Regions from separate parts of the Homo sapiens genome. Here all the other regions are linked to region 1. Evidence: promoter capture Hi-C in 16 types of primary human blood cells and fetal thymus (Javierre and others, 2016). All regions are on one chromosome and are shown on one strand. The core of a region is centred on a gene start or on the middle of the fragment in contact, and the rest is flanking DNA. Distances in the headings are between cores, read along the strand shown.

Evidence for each region. Contacts are between HindIII fragments. The CHiCAGO score rates a contact against its expected background, and 5 or more counts as called.
Region 2: a contact is called between a fragment that was not itself captured here and the fragment with the promoter of TBCK in region 1, in 2 of 17 cell types (naive CD4 T cells and non-activated CD4 T cells). The highest score is 6.3, in naive CD4 T cells.
Region 3: a contact is called between a fragment that was not itself captured here and the fragment with the promoter of TBCK in region 1, in 2 of 17 cell types (total CD4 T cells and naive CD8 T cells). The highest score is 7.1, in total CD4 T cells.
Region 4: a contact is called between the fragment with the promoter of AP1AR here and the fragment with the promoter of TBCK in region 1, in 2 of 17 cell types (total CD4 T cells and activated CD4 T cells). The highest score is 7.0, in total CD4 T cells.
Region 5: a contact is called between a fragment that was not itself captured here and the fragment with the promoter of TBCK in region 1, in 1 of 17 cell types (naive CD4 T cells). The highest score is 5.7, in naive CD4 T cells.

What each region holds. Positions count from the first base shown.
Region 1 is chr4:106,314,936-106,317,489 of GRCh38, reverse strand. TBCK (TBC1 domain containing kinase) reads left to right here and starts at 1,281. Exons shown (of 26, transcript NM_001163435.3): 1 at 1,281-1,559. AIMP1 (aminoacyl tRNA synthetase complex interacting multifunctional protein 1) reads right to left here and starts at 940. Exons shown (of 7, transcript NM_001142416.2): 1 at 896-940. RefSeq lists enhancers at 732-981, 1,472-1,531, 1,612-1,701. The HindIII fragment of the contact is 5,300 bases long and covers 1-2,554 here.
Region 2 is chr4:112,645,835-112,648,388 of GRCh38, reverse strand. It overlaps LARP7 (La ribonucleoprotein 7, transcriptional regulator), which reads right to left. Exons shown (of 13, transcript NM_016648.4): 3 at 1,938-2,038; 4 at 1,718-1,801; 5 at 1,434-1,598; 6 at 1,262-1,355; 7 at 840-1,190; 8 at 555-699. MIR302CHG (miR-302/367 cluster host gene) reads left to right here. Exons shown (of 3, transcript NR_146092.1): 3 at 1,421-1,669. It overlaps MIR367 (microRNA 367), which reads left to right and starts at 448; the gene lies at 448-515. MIR302D (microRNA 302d) reads left to right here and starts at 318; the gene lies at 318-385. It also overlaps MIR302A and MIR302C. The HindIII fragment of the contact is 855 bases long and covers 860-1,714 here.
Region 3 is chr4:112,281,635-112,284,188 of GRCh38, reverse strand. All of the region lies in intron 1 of TIFA (TRAF interacting protein with forkhead associated domain), which reads left to right. Among named protein-coding and RNA genes, the nearest start is that of TIFA, 3.0 kb to the left of the region's middle. The HindIII fragment of the contact is 3,101 bases long and covers 1-2,554 here.
Region 4 is chr4:112,230,502-112,233,055 of GRCh38, reverse strand. AP1AR (adaptor related protein complex 1 associated regulatory protein) reads right to left here and starts at 1,269. Exons shown (of 10, transcript NM_018569.6): 1 at 882-1,269. The coding sequence starts at 964. It overlaps AP1AR-DT (AP1AR divergent transcript), which reads left to right and starts at 906. Exons shown (of 1, transcript NR_186684.1): 1 at 906-2,554. RefSeq lists enhancers at 475-524, 549-1,496 and silencers at 735-1,004, 1,165-1,444. The HindIII fragment of the contact is 11,290 bases long and covers 1-2,554 here.
Region 5 is chr4:112,145,433-112,147,986 of GRCh38, reverse strand. FAM241A (family with sequence similarity 241 member A) reads right to left here and starts at 2,533. Exons shown (of 2, transcript NM_152400.3): 1 at 2,254-2,533. The coding sequence starts at 2,406. RefSeq lists an enhancer at 1,623-1,762 and a silencer at 2,103-2,554. The HindIII fragment of the contact is 795 bases long and covers 879-1,673 here.

The sequences.
Region 1 (2,554 bases), core at 32-2,531:
CTGTGTATTTTCCTTAAAGAGTGACCCTCTTAAAAGGAAGTCAGAGCCCATCACTCTACTGCTCAAAACGCTCCAAAGTCCTATTTCATTTAGAATAAAAGTTAGATGTCCTCAAGATCTTCATGACCTGCTCGCCTTGATTTAATCTCCAGTGAAGGACTAAACCCTTCACTCAACTCTGCCCTACAGGCCTCCTTGCTATTCTAGCACGTTTCTGCTTCATGACCTCTGCAATGGCTGGTCCCTCTGTCTGACTGCACTTTCCCAAGATATTCGCGTGGTTAAATCTCCCACTTCTGTCAGCCCTTTACTTAAAAGTCATCTTTTCAGCAAGACCTTCCTGTGTCACTTTATACCCTTCTTCCCTGCTTTACGTTTCTCTTCAGGACTATCACGACCTAAAATACAGTATGTTTCTAATTACTTTGCTTAGTATGTGCCTTCCTCTCTAAAATGTGAGCTACAAGTAGACACAGATTTCCGTCTGTTTTGTTCACTGCTGTTCACCTAATGCCTAGAACGGTGTCTGGAATAGAGTGGGCGCTTAATAACTATTCGCTCAATGAATAAATTCCTGTCTTCACCCTCCTCTCCCCCAAAGCACCTAAGTCCTTTGACACACACATTCACATAACAGTAAATACGCTTAGGGATCGATATTTTTCTGTAGCATTCTTAACTTAGGCCTGCATCCCATTTCTCAAACGTGGCTCCTTTAGAAGGAAGTCTCAAACTCTTTCCTGTTTCCTTAGGCCAGGGCTGGTCCTGCTGCGAACGGACTACCCATTAGCAGCGCAGGCCAGGTCCTCTCTCCTGGAGGCAAGTTAGAGAAGGAAGACCCCTACGATCGCAATCGGCGATCCCCGAGTGAGTGACCCGCCACGACGTCACTCACATGAAGCGGAGGACCACGGGTTCCGAGACAGCCACAGCAGGAAGCATGTAGGTCCAGCCACCCGCGTACTATAGCAGTGAGAAAGGACCCAATGAGGTGTCCTTGCTGAAAGCCTGAGTGTTCTACAGATTCAACCCTCAATTCTTTCTTCCTCTTCCTGTGCTCAGTCCCATTAACCTGCCATACCACGCTCCTCGTCTTCCATTCCCTCACCCAGTATTTTCAATCGACCCCCCCCGTCCCCCCGCACCTCTTTCTCTCTCGCTATATGTCCTTTCGTGGCCAGTTTGGGCAAGGGGAAGGACACCACAAGTCGGGGTCTTTCCTCAGCGTTGGGTCGCGGTGGCTGTGAGGGCGGAAGAAAAGGCCAGGCTGAGGGGAGGGTAGAGGGTGAAAAGCTCGGATCTGTGTTTGGGGAAGGCCAGGCTTGCGCTCCTCGCCGGGTTCCGCGAAGGTTAACCTTGGCTGACTTGGCTCGCGAGCAAAGGGCAGCGTCTGAGCTCCCGGCGTTCCAGGAGTGGCCTCTTTTGTAGGAGCACCTGAAATGCAGCGTCTGGTGCACTAAGCCGTAGCGGCAGCAGCAGCCACAGCGACAGCGCTGGGGCCCTGTGTAGAAGCTCCATCCCCCTTGTCTTTGTGCTTGCCTGCGTCCCCAGACTCAGAGGCAGGTATTTGGGTAATCCAGTTTTCCGTGTCGTAGTGGGTGGGGTCTGTGGGAGGTAGAGGACTATCAGGAGCAGTGAGTGGCCCCGCATGTCTTCAGAATAGATAGAGAACCGAGCTGTGGAGCCGCTTGCTGATAGGTACTGTCTCCATCCCTAGCTACAGCCCGCCTTTCCTGTAAATCAGGTTCACCTGAGTCGTTTGGGAACCGTAGGCTTAGTAATCGCTCTGTCACTGCCTCAAAGGAAGGCTAAAGGAGGTTAGAGAATCTAGAATCCGCCCCTCCATTACTCACCTTGGAGGCAGAATTTTGCTTTGGTTTGTTTCTGGCCCTCGAGGTTTAGTCAGTCGTCAAAGTGTAACACCCCCTTGAGCAGTAGGAGAAAGTGAAGCAGAGGAAGGAAGTTACTTGAGGATTGTCAGTGGCTGCTTTTCAAGGATCCCTGTCCTGGTTTCTATCTATTTGAGACAAAAATAACCTCTTGAGAGAATGTATATATAAAATAAATGAATTAGTATCATTTTCCTGTTGAAGAAATGTGAAATTTTATTCATGATAAAATCGGCGTCTTTTGCCCTATTTTTTACTTTCTTTCCCCATTCGAGTCGTTTAAAACTCTAAGTTCTTTGAGGGCACAGAGTCTGACTTGTTCATTATCCTTTGCCCACCAGCTGGAAAAACAACTGACTTAAAATAGGGGCTTCAAAATATTTGTTGAATGAATGAATTTTCAAGCCCAACTGCTTGCACTGCTGTTTCCCTCATCTAATCTCTCATCTCTACGTTTTTTTTCCCCCGGTAGTTTTCTTCCACTCACGAGGTGTAAGTGAATGTATGTGTGTGTATTTTTGTGTGTGAGCCTTTTTATGTACAACCATTTAAGAGGTAGTGGAAAAAGAACACTGATTATGCTAATTAGTGTTTTATCTTTTTCGATCATTGTGTTTTATTTGGTTATTTTATTTTCAGCTATGTGATGATAAAGACATCTGATT
Region 2 (2,554 bases), core at 38-2,537, 6.3 Mb before region 1:
TAAGTGCTTCCATGTTTCAGTGGAGGTGTCTCCAAGCCAGCACACCTTTTGTTACAAAATTTTTTTGTTATTGTGTTTTAAGGTTACTAAGCTTGTTACAGGTTAAAGGATTCTAACTTTTTCCAAGACTGGGCTCCCCACCACTTAAACGTGGATGTACTTGCTTTGAAACTAAAGAAGTAAGTGCTTCCATGTTTTGGTGATGGTAAGTCTTCCTTTTACATTTTTATTATTTTTTTAGAAAATAACTTTATTGTATTGACCGCAGCTCATATATTTAAGCTTTATTTTGTATTTTTACATCTGTTAAGGGGCCCCCTCTACTTTAACATGGAGGCACTTGCTGTGACATGACAAAAATAAGTGCTTCCATGTTTGAGTGTGGTGGTTCCTACCTAATCAGCAATTGCGTTAACGCCCACACTGTGTGCAGTTCTTGGCTACAGGCCATTACTGTTGCTAATATGCAACTCTGTTGAATATAAATTGGAATTGCACTTTAGCAATGGTGATGGATTGTTAAGCCAATGACAGAATTTAAACCACAGACTTACTTTGATAGCACTCTTAATGGTATAACTTCTTCTCCCATTTTATGTCTCTCTTTATGTTTTTTCTTATGTTTCCTTTTTGTTTTCAAGAGAGAGCTATCTTTTAGATCTCCAGTATCCTTTTCCTCTTCAGTAGAGATTTCTATATCTTGAAATAAATAAAAAAGCTCTCCGTTAAGACATGGGGCTGTGAAATGGGTGAAACAGAAGCCAATTAAAACCTAATTAATTAAAAACTAATTAATTAAAATTAATTAGTTTTATCTAATTAAAACCTTGTAGTTTTACCTCTATTTTCCTTGGAAGCTTCTGATGCTTCCTTAATGATGTCTTTCTGAATAATTTTCTTTACTTTTGATCGGGGAGCTAGGGATTCTGCATCTTCAGAGCTGCTTCTCTTCCTCTTCCCTGTTCTGACTTCAGGTAAGCTAGATGCTTCAACTCTGTCCCGTTTTTTCTTTTTCTTTGAGCACTGCTTTTGGGGTTCAGTGGACTCAATGTCAGAGCCCTCAGATGTGGGTCTGGATCTTTTCATTTTACTGATGCTGGTGTTGCTTGTGTCCATGTTTTCTTCTTTGGCTTGGATATTGTCTTCCTTTTTCATTCGGCCTTTCTTCTTCTTTTTCTTTTTCTTCTCTTCTGTAAAAGTGCCATCATTATTAGTTCATCTTACTTCAACTACACCTATTTAAATATTGAAAAATACTCACCCACAACTCTTAAGGCTGGAATGGGCTTATTTTTCACTGTTTTAGGAAATATGCCAGGTTTTCTTGGTGCTTCTTCTGGTGGGTTGTTAAGAAACTGAAATGATTGCAAAAGTTACTATTTTAATACTTGTTTTCTTTTCTTTCTTTTTTTTTTTTTAGGATCTGGACTTACCTCAATTGCTTTTGCTGCTTGTTCTTTTGTTTCAAATTCCACAAACGCAAATCCCTTTGGATCTCCAGTAGACTTATAATGTGGTATACTTATATAAACAACATTGCCACATTTCCCAAATACTCTTTCAATCCAGCTGTGATTAACATTTTTGGGAAGTAACTCCTATTATAAATTAAAAGCAATATTAGAGTTTTTCACAATCAGAATGTCAATAAATTTTTAACTTAATTATATTGTTTCTGTGCCAGTTTCTGACTGGGGACCCGGGTTCTTAAGCTTACCACATACACTGTGCGTTCATCCTCATCCTTTGGTCTTTCCCCCAGAGGTTTTTTCCTCCGGATTCTGGTGCCTTCCAAATCAAGCTTTAAAATAGTATATTACATTAATAAAACTAATATTATTTATAATTGTAAGCTATAATCATATAATAATCATTACGTTAACATTCTTTATAATTATAAACTATAAATATAAACAGTAGTTATTCTTGATTCTTACCTCTACAACAGCTGAACTTCTCAATGCTCTGGCAATTAACTTCCCATCAGTAGTCAATTTTTTCATTTTGTTAAAAGACACAAGTAGTGATATATCAACATCTAAAGAAAATGAAAAAGTTAATATGTTAGTGTATCAGCAGGATTAATTCAATTTGGTACAATTTAACCTGCCCCTCAGGCCCTCAGGCTCGGTGGCTCATGCCTGTAATCCTAGTACTTTGGGAGGCCAAGGCGGGTGGATGGGGGAGTTCAAGACCAGCCTGGCCAACATAGTGAAACCCCATCTCTACTAAAAATACAAAGAATTAGCTGGGTGTAGTGGTGCACGCCTGTAATCCCAGCTACTCGAGAGTGAGGTAGGAGAATCGCTTGAACCCAGGAGGCAGAGGTTGCAGTGAGCTGAGATCACTCCAGCCTGGGAGAAAGAGACTCAAACAAAACAAACAAAAAAAAACTGTATGAGGGTCTAAATGGCATTGCATATTTGGCGACCTAAAATGACACATTTTAGTGTATGTAACTGCAGATTAAGATTTGAACACAAATTATTAGCAATACCCAGACATTCAAAGAGGACATCTGGATCCCATCCTATTAGAAACAAGCACAAGGTTG
Region 3 (2,554 bases), core at 22-2,521, 6.0 Mb before region 1:
CCTCGATCTAACTCTTCTCTTCCCAACTCTAAGCCTCCCAGGTTAAGTGTATACATCCTGATGTCCAGCACAGAAGAGCTGGACACTCAAGATGCAGCATCTATGCCTTCTGTATTCAGCTTTCAGAGACAGAGTTCCCAACTGCAGTGCTTATTTTTATTTCTATATTTATTGTATTTCCTTTGTTAACACAGATATTATTGTTTGTCAGATATTAATCAGTGTTTTACAACTTTTCCATGTCAGATATCACAGTTTACCCCTTTAATAATACTTTGCTAATCTCCAACCACTGTCAATTCCATAAAAATCAGAGGTTGGTGATTTTGTAAGGAAAATATTTGTTAAGTGTTTGAATAGATATTGAAGTGCACATGGTATAAAATTCCAAAGGTGTAGAGTGTGTGTGCAGTGGAGAGTAAGTCTCCTTCCTATCCTGGGCCCCCAGTTTCTGTCTCCAGAGGTAACCATTGTTATCACTATATAAAATCATTGTTGCCCTGTTTCTTTGATAACTTACGACTAACAGATTTCAAAATGCTGTTTTGAGCAAATGTGCACCAATGATTTTTTAAAATCTAACAATTTTAACTATATTATTTTAATTGTCAGCTTCTGTCTTTCCTGTTTTTCTGCTGACCACTCTGAAATGTCAGAGTGTTCAGGTCACTTTGTAGAGGGACTCTGTGGCTTTGAGGATAAACAAATAGATTCATTTCTAAGTTCCTTGAGGTCAGAGATCAACATGGTCTCCAAACAACCTGCCACAATTACCGATGAGTACTAGGTCCATGCTAACATTTATACACCCAGGCTTACTGATACCCAGGTTACTGATATTCACCGTAACCTGGTGCTTCAGAGCCTGTTCCTCCTATGAGGTAGCACTAATGGTGTATTTCCCTCCCCAGTATTAGATTCTTGTTTGGTGCCTTGCTGGTTGTAGCCCACACACATTTATGTCCCCCTTCTCTACAGGTTAACTGCTAAAGTTTGTGAAGTAGCTGGTAACCAGGGAGGCAGTGTTTGTAATGGTTAAGAGAGGATGCATTGGAGTTTGAGTCCTGTCTCTGACATTGGATTTATGATCTGGGCTGGTTTTTAAACCCTCTGAGATTCAGCTCCCTTATCAGTGAAGCAGTGATTCACAGGGTTATTTTGAAGATTAGATGACCTGTTGTCACCAAAAAGTAGGTTAGTTGCCCGCTGCATGCAGAGTCCAATTAACAAGAGTGAGGTCTGGTACAAAAAAAAAGTGAATTCCTAAGCTAGCTTGGAGAAGGGGGCACAAAACGTCCTGCCTTTATCCACACCCAGAATGTGCTGCTTCACTTTTGGAGCAGAAAGTGGGCCTCTTTTATAAAGTAGGGTGGGAAGTGAGCCAGAGCAGGGGGTCCCCCGCTTCCCTGGTGCTTTATCTACCAGACAGTTGAGTTGACACCTTCCTGGGCAGAAATATAAGTTATATAAGTGGCCAAGTGGGCATACTCTCACCATGCCCTCCTAGTAGGTGTGAGTTCAGAGGCCACCCCCTGGAGGTGAGAGTTCTGTGGGGACATGCTTTGGTCTGCAAATCGACTGTCAACTCTCCAGGAGAGATCAAAGTTAAGGTTGTCTTGGAGCACATAGTTAGATATACTTGCCCTGTAGGGAATTTCTGGTCAGGAAAGGTGAATGGTTACATTTGCATTTCTGAAGGTCTAAGTAGGAAGTGGGGCACAGGGAAAAGAGAAAATAATTAAAAAAATTAAACTATGACTTAGAAAAGTGGAGGTACTTGGTTACAGTGTATCAGGGTATCAGCAGTCTGCCTGGCACATGAAAGGCATGAAATAAGTAATAGCCCTTATTCCTGTCTGTATTAGTTTGTTCTCACACTGCTAATAAAGACATACCTGAGACCGGGTAATTTATACAGGAAAGAGATTTAATGGACTCACAGTTCCACATGGCTGGGGAAGCCTCACAATCATGGCAGAAGGCAAGGAGGAGCAAGTCACATCTTACATGGATGGCAGCAGGCAAAGAGAGAGCCTGTGCATGGAAACTCCCCCTTATAAAACCATCAGATCTTGTGATACTTATTCACTATCACAAGAACAGCATGGGAAAGACCTATCCCCATGATTCAATTACCTCCTATCAGGTCCCTTCCACAACATGTGGGACTCGTGGGAGCTATAATTCAAGATGAGATTGGGGTGGGGACACAGCCAAACCATATCACTGTCAGAGTTTGCTGTGGTTTTATACCTTCATAAGATAGGTGAATGCATCCATCAGCTCAGGCTCTGATATAGTGCAGTAACAAATGACCTAAAAAATCTCAGTGGCTTATTGGAAGAAGGGTTGGTTTTTTTGCTAATATTAACTGTCCTTTATGTATCTGTCTTCGGCTCTTCCCTCTGGGACCCAGACTGAGCTGCTCCTTGTGGGAACTGCTGATGTTTTGACAAAAGAAAGAGGGAAGGTGGAACTACACAGTGGCTTTTAAGTTTCTGCTTGGAAGTAAGTCACTGCCATTCATGTTTCATTGACATGGTTGTTAATGAAG
Region 4 (2,554 bases), core at 20-2,519, 5.9 Mb before region 1:
TTCTAGGTTTGAATTCCGGAGGGACATTTAATAACAACAAAGCCAACCCCAAAGGAATTTGCTCTAATTTTTTCAATATATATGAAATAAAAAAACACAAAAACGGAATTATGAAATTACTATTCTGTGGATGGTGCATATACAAAACCTAAGCAATATCCCAGGTTTACTCAAGAGAAGTGAAGTTCAGAAGGACTGCAATTTACCTAATGTTACAGGACGTTTGAGTAGCAATCAGGGCAAGGAATTCCTCTCGAAATTTCAAAAACTTAATACGAAAAAATTACACATTGTCCCTGTAGTTATGAGCACCAAGAATCTGAATGCCCATTGGGAACTCTGCAATTCAGCAAGTCTTTGTAGCTACCAGAGTTCATCAGTATCTGGAACCTTATTTTACTCCAGCATCCAAATGACTTCTACTTAAAATCAATCTGAGGCATTAACTCCGGAGCCAGATCCCACCTGCTCTGCCAGGGCTAAAGAGAGGGTCAGATACAGGGATACTAGCTTTGGCGTTAAACCTAAGCTCAGCGCAGGGTGTGTCCAGGTTGCCGTGGAGCCGGTCCTACAGCCCATTAGCGCGAAGCTACCCCTTGTTTCCTGGAGATGATGTCTCCCGTGACTCCTTCCCCGCGTGACAGGGCGCCCTGGCAGGAGGGACACCCCGCCCCCTCTTCTACCTCTTTCCGAGGAGGCCCCAAGACCGGACCCCAGACTGGGCCTCCAAGACGACCACCAGTCTGACGTCTGCTAAGCAGTGAGTGTAGCAGGGCTCTCGACCGCCACCTCCAGCCGCCGGGGGACGGTGAAAGGGATTCCCCGCCGGGGGCCGAAGAGGAGGAGCCACGGGGGCCGGGCCCCTCCCCCAGCGGGCTTACCCTCCGCCGCCGCCTACTCGCTGCAGCCGCCCCGCTTCCTTGCGAAGCAGTCCGAAGCACTGCGTCCAGCAGCAGTTCCCCATCGCATGCCGCCCAGGCGCCGCCGCTCCTCCTCCTCCTCCCGCTCAATGCCCAAACCCAGGCCCGGCAGCTGCATCCGCACGGCACGAGCCGAAATGGGGTTCAAGGACCGAGGGCGGGCCGGCCAGAGCCCGGCGGCGTGAGGGCACGGGGCGACGAAAGACGAGGCGCTAGGGAACAAAGGCAGTGTTTACTCCAGCGGCCGCAGAGCCACCGCTGCGCGAGGGAGGAGCACCGGGCTCAAGGCTCTGGACTCCCTCGCCGTCCGCATGGCCCTTCTCGCCTCAGCTCCTAGCCCAGCGTGAGTGACCGCCTCCAGCTGCCGAAGGAGGCCAGTCCCCGCGAGCCGAGCACCCTGGCCCCGCCCCCAGCGCGCCCAGGCCCCTGCTCGCCGCCAACGCTGCCACACCCCCGGCCTCTCCCGCGCCCCAATTGGGCGCGCTACCTCGGTGCCCCGCCTTCTCTGGCGACCGGCCTGTGCGTCACTTCCGCTCGCTCCTGGTTCAGCCGCCTCTGCCTGCGAGACGGTTCAATTCCTGCGTGCGGACGTTTGTTTTGTTGGACCTTGACCTGACTAGGAAATTTCCCTCTCTCATTGCAGTTTCGGGCATCCTCGTCCGGAGCACGCTGGGCGTGGCATGGCTAAGGCTCAGCCTTCGAACTTTGTATCAAAGGCGTGTGAGGAGCCAGAGTCCCAGGCCGGAAGTCATAAGTGCGAAGGGGCGTTTCTCTGCACGGTGTGCTTAGTTTTTGTTAATACTGCACCATAAGCGGAAAATAGACTCGGGAACTGATTGAGGTTACTTTGAACGCACCAAGATTTTTTTCCGGTCTCTGGTTTGTGTCTTAATTTCCATACTGTTAATGTTTTAGGGAAACGTAATAATGGTGCATTATTGTCCTCGTTTTGTTTGAAAATCAGATCTTCACATAATTTTGGGTTGGGTAGTTGGGGTTCAGAGGAAATTGGCAAGAGGGCTGGGGTTTTTCGGGGACGTCAGCGTTGCCATTCCAAGCATGCTGCCCAGAACTGCTGTAGATGGGAAGAGAAAGCTGCTCTAATGTGTCCGCAGCCCTCTCAAGTGCTACCATATAATTCGCGTCTTGTTTGGCCTCAAGACAGTTGGCCTCACAATAGATATAAGATGTGGTTTAGTAGACACCTCGTCCAGTGGATAGGAGGATGCTCTCATGGACTGGACACATCAAGTTTTTAGCCTGTTTAATTAAACCTAGAAAAATTGTTACATTTTAGAAAGTTTTTATTGATGATAAAATGTTCTCTGAACTCATTTTCTTGCTTCTTTAAATACGTATCTGGTTTCAATCTTAGCACTGCTACTTACTAATGTTTATTTTATTTGGGTTTTAGTTGTTTTGTAATCAGAAGCATAGGATAACATTTGTCCCAATGGTTTGCTTTCAGTGAATGTTGGGATGACCGAATGACTTCCTAGTGAAAGCATTTTCTTTTCTCCTTCCAACCCCTGAAATTAGACAAATGTATTAATGAAATAATCATTAAAATTCAACTATAAATGTTTACAGAAACTGGTACATCTATCCTATGGAATATTTAGTAACAAATAGGA
Region 5 (2,554 bases), core at 27-2,526, 5.8 Mb before region 1:
AGGAGCGCCTCTGCTAGCTCCTGCCTCTAATTTCCTCTCAATACCCATGAGGCTATCCATGACTCCGGAACACGAAGTGAGCGTGCCAAGTAGAAAAGACGGCAGGAAGATGGCCTCTGTCTCATTTCCAGCTAATTAGTTTTGGTTCTGTTCCTGTTTATATCATTGTTTTCATGGAAAAGTTCACCTTAAGTTCTAAATCATTAACTTAGAAACCAATCTTTCAAAAATATTCCATTTGTAATCTGGAGTCCTTGTATCCTTAAACCAACCAACAGGACAAACAAAAATCATCTCCCTAAATAAAAACTAAATAAAATGAGTCCTTGGGATATGTTCCATAGTTGTTAATTTCATTTCTTCCTCAAATATCTTTACACATGTAATACTATTTCTACCATCATTACATGGCAATGCATAATTTCATTTACAGAACTTGAAAAAAACTAGAAAACAAGGCTTTGTGATAACATTACCAAGAAACGTTTTATCAGAAAAGCTTGCTTTTTACAACAATGGGTTGGGTTGCACCAATTTTTTGCTTATTTTTGTCTTCTTGACTAATTCTTCTTTGGTGCTAATGTAGTAGGAAATGCCTATCTCCGGTGTGATTTTCAATTATTGTGTATGGGGGCTTAGAATACATTAATAAATCTTGAGGCAAAAACAGAATGATAAAAATAACACTTCAAAGGAGTACAGGAGAATGAACTTTCATGACATTCAATGAAGGAGGCAGGTATGCAAAGTGATATGTTTTCTAAGATGTACTTTTCATTTTTTGTTTTATCCTTTTACTTTGTACCATAAGCAATTTTGGAAAGACCACAACTATTAGTGATGTCTACATAATCATACTAATGAAGTACACAGAAGCTTAAATGAAGTATTTTTATATGCTCCCTTACAACTATTTGAAAATTTACTTTGGAAACCCCTGCTCAAATGCAACCCCTCCCCACCCCCAAAGGAATTCTTGTGCTGTCTTCTTCACTTTTCCAGTTAAGCAATTTAAGTTAGAGGAAATCAAGCCCTTGAGCAAATGAATAGTTAACGGGAAAAACCACTAGGAAGGGAATCCGAAGAACAAGCTACCAAATTATTTGCTTGAGTCACTTTCTCTTATATTGTCACAGATGAAAAATTACACTCCACGTGGTGATCAAACCTAACGCTAAGGCATATTTTGTGTGCCACACAGTATTACTCTGTTTCCTAAGTAACCTATTGAAACAATGTAAGGTATACATCTATTAATGCATTTAGTGATGATACTGGAATTTGTGAAACGTGACAGAAAGGACAGATGAAGAAAGATGAGGAGAGACAGGTATTAATTGTCCTAACAGTACAGGCTGTAATAAAGGCCAATAATCATTTGAATTCCTGCTCCTTAATGTGAGTCTAAAGAGCGGCTTACCTCAGGTATTTGGAAAGTCTAAATACTGTATTTGCTGTAGAAAATTCATCCAACATACAATTCAATTTTTAAAATTAAACCTTTTGCCTAATCTTTAAGATATTTGATGTTATAATGCCCATTATCACACTTTATTTAAATGAGATAAACTCAGAGAGTTTAAAAAATTACGCAACTTCTCTTTTCCCTTACTATGGCTGGCCTCTTATAACCGAAAGCAATATTCTTGCCTCTCCACTTTTTAACTGAAGCTTTGATCTCATCTGTATTTATGAAGAACGTGCTCTGGGAGAGTCCCTGTCAAGACATTCATTGTAACACCCGCTCCTACTCATGCTTTCAGCGCTGCCCGTGGACGGAATCCACCCACACCTTCCAGACACGCTAGGTGTGGGCTCGGAAACGCAAGATGGAGGGCGGGAGGGGAGCCGGCGTCTCCTAAACCTGGCGCAGGGCACGGACTCGAAGTTGAAAAAGAAGTGTTTACAAGTGAGGCTTTTAAATAAATCACCGCTATGGAGGGCATTTCCTCCGAGCCCTGGGCGCCAGCCTGAGAATCCTCTGCCGGACGCCAGGGGACGAACCACGCTGACCCCGCCAGACACGCGACCCCGGGGCCGGCGCTGGCGTCTGCACTCGCGCGACCCCGCCGCTCCTCCTGGGAGCGCCGTCTAACCGCTCCCGGCGACGACTTCCCAGAGCGCCGGGGAGCCAGTGCCCACGCGGGGCAGAGCTGCGGCGCGGCCCGCGGGCCGGGCCCCTTCCCTCCAACGCCGGGCGGGGCTCGCGGCCCCCGACCCGGCCGCTTCGCCGCCGCCCCTCCCCGCGCTCACCTGCTCGCTCTCCTTCGGCCGCTGTCCGCGCCGCCGCGGGCTCGCCCCGGGATCCCACCCGGTCCCTGCCGCCTCCCGCTCCGCCAGCGCGTCCCCGTCCTCGTCGCGTTCCCCGCCGTCGCCGCCCCGCAGCAGCTCCCCGGCTGAGCACATCCCGCAGCCAACTCCTACCGCCCCGGACAGCCGCCGGAGGACCACGCCGCGACGCACCAGGCAGCGCCGCCGCCCGAAGGCTGCCCTGGGATCCGCCGCACCCGCCGCTGACAGGAGCCGCCGGAGCGCGCCCCGCCGGCCTGGGCGC